Regions from separate parts of the Homo sapiens genome. Here region 2 is linked to region 1. The links are contacts of gene promoters, found by promoter capture Hi-C in blood cells and fetal thymus (Javierre and others, 2016). All regions are on one chromosome and are shown on one strand. The core of a region is centred on a gene start or on the middle of the fragment in contact, and the rest is flanking DNA. Distances in the headings are between cores, read along the strand shown. Region 1 holds the start of S100A10 (S100 calcium binding protein A10). Region 2 has its middle 44 kb from the start of CRNN.

Region 1 (4,134 bases), core at 824-3,323:
ATGGAACCACTGCTGAATACATGATCCATCGTTGGCTCAAACACTGTTATGCAGTGAATGACTGTACTTAATTTTATAATCAGTATGATCACAATTATGCAAATATTTGTTACATATGCATAAAAAGACTAGAAATATGAAAATGTTTATCTTTGGCTCATGTATTTATAAATCATTTTTTATACATTGATATATTTTCCAAGCCTTCTAAGAATGGAATCTTTGTACAGATTAAAAAGTTACAATAAGTGTTATTGTTGTTTTTAAATTTCTACCCAATGTTGCTTCCTGCAGAAATTATTCTGTGACCACTCCAAGAGGACTTGGAAGCCCCTCCTCAGTGTTCTCCTAGTATCCAATAGTATCCTCTACCATTCACTAAGCACACTGGATTTTAATTGTTTGCTTATCTAACGCCCAATACTTGGAACTCTTCAGAGAAAGAGACTGATTCTCTAATCCCTGAATTCCCAGGCCTACCACATACACTAAAGCACTCCTAAGGTCTGTGGACCAGATGAAGAAATCAGATGAGTAGGGGTACGCAAACCCAGGCATTCCCATTCTAAACCCAGTCGCATTGCAATCCCTGCAACAAAAGGGATCCGAGATTTCCTCCACTGGTGACTGTGACCTGGGGACTGGGAAGTACTGTATACAGGAAGATCTTGAAGAGCTGTCCCCTTGAATAGTCAGCACCAGGGTTGCACGGAAAGTAATAGCTGAAATCCAAGTTGGGTTTTCCTGGCAACAGCCAATATTAGTCAGAGGTGGCACTTGGAGGATTCCCCAGGTCTGCTCATTCCTTTAGGATCATTCATTCCTCCCAAGGCCTCCCTTGGGAACAAAGGAAAACCCCAGAGTTTGGGATTGGGCTCTTTTCCACCAACAGCTGCTAGTAGTTTGTATTTAACCCTGAGTCACAATTAAAATAAAAGAGGGCGGGCGGGGGAGGGGCGAGGAGTTGGTAAGCATCCCCTAGGAAACACTTAGGTTTTCTCTAAATTTATTCCAGAAAATTCTTCTAAAGGACTTTTCAAGGACCACAGCATACTGCCTTGGAAACTTAGTTTTTAACCTTTTTCTTTTCTTTTTTTCTTTTTTCTTTTTTTTTTTTTTTTTTGAGACAGAGTCTCACTCTGTCACCCAGGCTGGAGTGCAGTGGTGCGATCTCGGCTCACTGCAACCTCTGTCTCCCAGGTTCAAGCGATTCTCATGCCTCAGTCTCCTGGGATTACAGGCGCGCATCACCACTCCCGGCTAATTTTTGTATCAGTAGAGACAAGGTTTCACCATGTTGGCTAAGCTGGTGTTGAACTCCTGACCTGAGGTGATCCGCCCGCCTCGGCCTCCCAAAGTGTTGGGATTACAGGCGTGAGCCACCGCGCCCGGCCAGTTTTTAACACTATTAGCCACACTGAAACTGAACTATTGATCAAGTGACGCCACACAAAGGGGTAAATCCCCTGTTCAACAAAGGGTTTGTGACGCCCCTGGGTGCTGACAAGCCAAACCGCACCCTCCCTGCGGCACCTCGCGGGCCGGTGGGGCGGGAAGCCCGGCTTCTGGGGAGGTGCCGCCCCTCCACTGGCGCAGGCCGCCGAGACCCCCAGACGGACCTCCTAGGGCTAATCTGATAGTGCCTCTGAGGTCGATAGGACTCCACGTGCCACTCCCTGCAGGGTCATCCAGCAAGTAATTCCTAGACCCGTAGGTGGCCGCAGAGCCGGTTACCTCTGGTTCTGCGCCAGCGTGCCCCACCCGCAGGACGGCCGGGTTCTTTGATTTGTACACTTTCTAAAACCAAACCCGAGAGGAAGGGCAGGCTCAGGGTGGGGATGCCCTGAAATATTCGAGAGCAGGACCGTTTCTACTGAAGAGAAGTTTACAAGAACGCTCTGTCTGGGGCGGGCGAGGCCTCTGCGAGGCGGGTCCGGGAGCGAGGGCAGGGCGTGGGCCGCGCGCCCGGGGTCGGGGGAGTCGGGGGCAGGAAGAGGGGGAGGAGACAGGGCTGGGGGAGCGCCCTGCCGAGCGCCCGCCAGGCTCCTCCCGCTCCCGCGCCGCCTCCCTCTACCCACCCGCCGCACGTACTAAGGAAGGCGCACAGCCCGCCGCGCTCGCCTCTCCGCCCCGCGTCCAGCTCGCCCAGCTCGCCCAGCGTCCGCCGCGCCTCGGCCAAGGTGAGCTCCGCCCGGCCCACGCGCCCCTCCTGGGTAGTCCCCAGGCCCGGACCTGCTGCCCGGGGAAAACCCTGCACCCGGCTTCGCGGGGCGTCCGGAGCACCGCGGGGCTGGGCGGGGAGCGGCTGGTGGGGAATCCGCTGCTCAGTGCTCCGGGCCACACCCAAACGAGGCCAGCAGCGCCCCTCCCCGGCCCGGGCGCGGCCGCCCCCAGACCCACGCGGACCAGAGGAGGGGGCACTTGTTCTTTAGGAGGGGACCGTGGTATTGGTGCGCCTGAACCTCTTCCCTCCTCCCTTTATGTTTGCGTTGCTTTACTCCCACCTTTCCTACTTTCCCACTCGTCTCTCGGGTTACCGAATCCCTCCTACACGCCCCTGCCCTGGCTGGCGTGTTTCTTGGTGGGTTCCGCTCGCAGGCCGGGTCTGCATGTTCGTAGCCTGCTCCCGGCTGTACCGCCCAAGTAGGCGCGGGTAGGACGAGTAGGCAGCTGGGGCGTCCCTTCCGTAACCCTTAGTCCGTCGGCCAAACAGGCGTTTCTGGTCGGGGCTTCCTGTTGTCTGCTCGACGGAAAGGGTCTTCCTGCTGAGGGAGGGAGGTCCACTTGTTTTCTTTCTACAGCAGTTTGGCTGGGGTTTGTGGGAGAGGGCCCTGTGTGACGTGGTTTCTCTACTGAAAGGGTTCCCTTGCTGTCTTAATAAGTGGAACCAGAAAGAGATGGAGGAAGAGCAGGCTTGATGAAGGATCTTCCAATCATAGATTAATTTGGCCCGGTGCAGTGAAACAGACAGACGTGCCTTTGGTACTTGGTTCACCACCTGTGCTTTGGCCGAAGGAATGGCGCTGCCCCTAGCCGTGGACACTGCTGCCTGTCCAGCCTCAGTCCAGCTCTGCCTAAGTGAAACCAGGAGCTCTGCCTTGTTGGCTGGGGTGGAATGCAGAGCGCTCCAAGCCAGGCCAGCACAGGGGAGCCCTAAGCCAGATTCTGGGATGCATTAAGCCCACCCCGTTTTCTGCCCCCACCCAGTTCCGTCTCTGCGGGAGCTTCTGCAGGGCGTGGTTAGCACAAAGGGCTCCAGGATTCTCCCAGTGGTCTGAGGCCTGTGACTCAGCTGTGAGACCATGTGGGTGTGGCCGGTTGCAGATACTCTCGGTGGATGGTTTGGACAGAACACTCCCTGAAGGAAAAGGAGAACTGTGCCATCTCAGAGGGCATTTTCCAAGAGGAAGTGAGTCACACCTGGTCTGGCTGCCAGTCTGCAGGAGAGGTTTCTCGACTGAACTGCCGGTGAGGGCAGTAATTAGATCTGCAGGGCCTTGGCGAGACCGCTTTTCGTTATCGGCCAGTATGCGCCTGGCAGCCTGCCTCAGCCTTACTTGGGAGGTAGCTTTTCCCGCTAAGAGGTTTGCAGTTGTTGCGGATATTTTTCCCCAGAAGCTTGAGTTTCAGTCTCCAGGAATGGAGTTTTATGTTGTGCGTTTTAGGTGAGGCCAGGCTCATGGAAACACCCAGTCGGTGATCTTTGCCTCCAACATGTTTCAGCAAATTGCAAAAGATAATGCCAGGGGTTGGAGTGGGAATGAGTTCATATAACTTATTGGAAGTTTCTTCATCGGCCCTGCCCCCACAGATTCCTATCCAGTTTCTCTTTAATCATCCCTTCCAAATGGTGTATTTGTTCCTTCACAGCCAGAGGATAGTTTCTTCACTGTGGCCCTTGATCCACCATTTGGAGTTTCTTATCTAGGTTCTTACAATTTTTTTGGTCTACTGGGCATGAAGCAATTTTTGGGTCTTACCCTGCTTTCTGGGTGATGCTCTTCCTAGCTTTTCTCCGACACATCATATAGGCCCCTTTCCTCCCGTGTGCTGGCCAGCCTCCTAAGCAGCCACTCCAGTGAGGTCAGGGTGGAGCTGAGACTGTGTGCCTCCCTGCTTTCTACTGACAGTTCA
Region 2 (3,742 bases), core at 155-2,654, 470 kb before region 1:
CTGCACATCTAGCAGCCTGGTTAGTCCCTCCCAAATTACAGCAACCAGGAAGGAGTCAAATGCTGATGTCCACCTGGGCCAACCCTCACCCCCACACACATCCCACACCTTATACTCTGAGCTACTCTGAACCCACTACCTACAGAAACTAGAACAGATAGGAAACAGCATGGTTAAAAATGTTCCACACTTGCTTTCACTTTCAAGAAGAATGTCACTTCTGTGCTTTTACTTTCAGATAATTTAAAAACCAAAAGTCTACTTAATGCCAAAAAAAAAAAGAGAAGTAAAAATAGTAATTGATTTCAGAGTGGTGAGGACGCTGGACCTAAAACCAGGGGTACAAGGAAGCAGCCTCGGTGTGGTGGGGATCAGTGAGAGCCTGTGACTCCTGGGGCCCTCCTCGGCCACTGAGCTGGGGCTCACTGACACCAGGAGGCCAGCTCAGAGCATGGCAGCTGCTGCAGGCAGGGCCACTCGGCCGAATGAAGGCAATGGGGTGCAGAGGAGAGAACGGGGCTCTGGAGCCAGAACATCTGCTTTGCTGGCTCTGTGGCCATGTGTGAGTTACCCACTCTCACCAAACCACTATTTCTCAACTTCTAAATTGGTCCATAACACACTCCCAGAGGAGTTGACATGATCAGCATGTTTAAGTGCCTAGTGGTGCCCAGCATATAATATATACTCAGTCAGTAGAGGTAGCTCAACCCCATTACTCTCCTCTCTCACTCCCTTCCAGCCACACTGGCCTCTTTGCTGTATCTTGTGTAGATCAGGAATGATTTCACCTTAGGACATTTGCATTGGCTTTTCCCTCTACCTGGAATCTTCTTACCCAAGATATCTGCTTGGCTCCCTCCCTATATTTCTTTCAAAAGTAAGCTTCTTAATAAAGCAGAGCTGACCAGTCCATTTAAATTACAACTTACCCTTTATCCTTGCCACTTGCACTCTCATTCCTTATTCAGCTCTATTTCTATAGTGGTTACCGCCTTCTAACATGTTGTATAATTTACATATTTATTAGGGTTATTGTTTACTGCCTACTACTCCCACCCACATATCCCAGCTTTTATCTATTCTGTTTACTGCTGTATCTCTAGAGTCAATAACACTGACTGGACATCGTAGACACTCAACAAATACTTATCAGTTTTATGAATGAATGGATGCATGGATAGATGCTCTTCCATCTTCAAAAATCAAATATCATCTGTCAAACAGAGAGAGCAGGTGTTAAGGTCAAAGGCGATCCCTTATGTGAAAGGGCAGGTGGAGGAGGAAGCACTGCACCATGGAAAACTGTGTTCCAGGTGGTTGCCAAGAATACTCAGAAGTTAGAGATGAAGGGCTGCCCCAGACACAGCCTTGGGGCCCAAGATTCATACTGCTGTTAGAGGGGCACAAACTTGCTGGGTTTTGACTCTGGGAGGAAAACCACGTGTGGGGTCTTAAGCGGGGCCCTGTGTCTTTGGGGATTCACATTTGTTGCACCCAACTATACTCTGGAGCTTCAGAAATCAATGGAAGTTGCTCTGGATTCAAAAATCAATAGAAGTTGCTCCCTTCCCTGGAGATGCCCACGGTCAACCTTTGTCTTTTGGAGTCAGGCTAACCTGAAGTTGAATCCCAGCTCTACCACCATTGAGTTATGACCTTGGACAAATCACGTAAATTATCTGAGTTTACACTTCTATACATGGCAATATTAGTGGCCACTTTTCAGCAGACTGCCTACACACAGTGTGAATTTGAGAAATACTAGTTCCCTTACCGTTCCGTCTTCCATCTCTGAAACTTCGCTGGAGCTCCATCTTCTTGAGACATGGCGATGCATTTCAGGAGTTTCCCTGAAGAGGGAGCCAGAGCACCACGGAAATCCTAATTGTTGGCTGACAGCAGTCAGCGCAGGGAAGCTTATGGGCACAGCCAGTCAGCAAGTCTTTTGGGTCCAGACCTCGGCTTCCTCTCTCTCAATGCCTTCTATCAAAACCCCCCCACCTTGTGCCAAGTGCTGCTCACAGTCTGCCAAGCAGCTCCCCTATCTCAGGCTCTACCTAGTCAAAATGATCTTTCAATCAAAATTCCAATTTTCTTTTCAGTCACTTTATATAGCTGTTGTCATAGTAAGTGACAACTTGGTTTAATAAAGCCAGTTGTGCCAGGATGTTGCTAGGTAATATTTGCTACTTCTAGGTAACGTGTATATTTTAACAGGTGCCTTCTGATGATACATATGGGGACAGGTAGGCATTCCAAATGCTGAGATCCAGTGCCACTCACCTTTAGACCACCCTGCATTCCATGGGCTATACTTAATATTTGGTGCTTACCCACAGTAAGCTTACATTAGGTTGAACACATAAAATTGTTCATAATCCACCATTTTACCTACAAAACAACAATTTCATATGGTCCAAAATAATATTTCACTTCTTCACCCCCACTCAATTTCAGTGTAGACTCCAGGTCTTTTTTTTTACTTTCCCCATCACATTTTTGCCCTCAAGCACTGTTTTCACTCTTGTTATATTCCCCCCCTCCAGCCCTACCTCAGTTTCCAGTTCCTACACCTTGCCTAGGCCACACCTCACCCTTGCAGGGCATCTCCCTGCTGAGGCAGCTGCTGTGATGGGATTGGTCCCACCTGCCATCTCCAAAATGAGCACAACAGGGCTTTGTCCAGCCAAGAACATAGGGCTCCAGCTCCTCCCATACCACAATATCCCATGAGCACTCTCTCAGTCTCCCAGCAAACTTCTCTGCCCTCGCAGACTCTGGAGTGCCAGTCCCATCGAGTAACTATCTGAAACCCTTTGAGTCTAATTGTCTTCAGATGTGAAATGTAAAAGGACAATGCACACCACATAAGGTTGACATAAGGAATGACTGGCGTAATGGTTGTAAAAAGCCTAGCACTGTGCCTGGCAGATGGCAGTCATTCTGCAAGGTACAGTTGCCCTCTCAGAACCTAGGCATGGTGTACAAGACCAAAGCCCCCAAAGCAACTCATTGTCCTGTCCACCTCTTCCTAAAATGCCATGTTATTGTTGCACCCCCATAGGCACCATTTTGTCAAGTGTGGTCTGGTCCTATTCTCCAAGCACTCTGTATCACACACTCCTGTGATTGCCACAGCATGGGGCAGGGCTGGCCTGGTAACTCCCTAAGGGACTAAGTCCTGCCTCACCAACAGTCTTCTATTCTGTCCTGGGCCCCTGAGATTCTGCCCTTCCACACAACAAGAGTAGTGACTGTGATACCAGAACCACATGACATGTTAAATAAAGAGGCTCTGTAAAGAGGAGCAGAGAGATGTGTGCCCCGGAGGGGAGGGAGGTGGTCAGGCTGGGGGTGAAGAGTGGTGGGACTTGGCCCTAGGAACTCCTGCCCTTTTGTCCTCCTTCCTGCCATACCCTCTCCTGTGTGTTCTTAGCATCTCACCCCCACTCCTCATCTCTCCAGTTCTAAAACAGTCTGTCAAGGCTTCTGGAAGTGGAGAGAGACCCAGGCTGGTTATGGAGGGATTATAAGGAACTGCTAAACACAAAAGACAATGGTCAGCCTCACCCAGACAAAGGCAAATGCCTGTCTTAGTGGGGAGATTGCATGTTCATCCAATTTGAAATTTTAAACAGATGTATAACTCTAAATACTTTAGAATTACAATGTTAGGTTGTGATTTTGAAAAATACCAGAAAAAATGGTATTATGCTAGCAAAAATATAAAGTGGAAATT

Evidence for each region. The method cuts DNA at HindIII sites, captures the fragments that hold promoters and counts their contacts. A CHiCAGO score of 5 or more calls a contact.
Region 2: a contact is called between a fragment that was not itself captured here and the fragment with the promoter of S100A10 in region 1, in 3 of 17 cell types (naive CD4 T cells, naive CD8 T cells and non-activated CD4 T cells). The highest score is 7.1, in naive CD4 T cells.

Annotation. Positions count from the first base shown.
Region 1 is chr1:151,991,798-151,995,931 of GRCh38, reverse strand. It overlaps S100A10 (S100 calcium binding protein A10), which reads left to right and starts at 2,073. Exons shown (of 3, transcript NM_002966.3): 1 at 2,073-2,180. RefSeq lists silencers at 1,646-1,775, 1,906-1,955, 1,966-2,265 and an enhancer at 2,834-4,033. The HindIII fragment of the contact is 5,740 bases long and covers 1-3,620 here.
Region 2 is chr1:152,456,707-152,460,448 of GRCh38, reverse strand. No RefSeq gene overlaps it. Among named protein-coding and RNA genes, the nearest start is that of CRNN, 44 kb to the right of the region's middle. RefSeq lists an enhancer at 1,862-1,931. The HindIII fragment of the contact is 1,034 bases long and covers 888-1,921 here.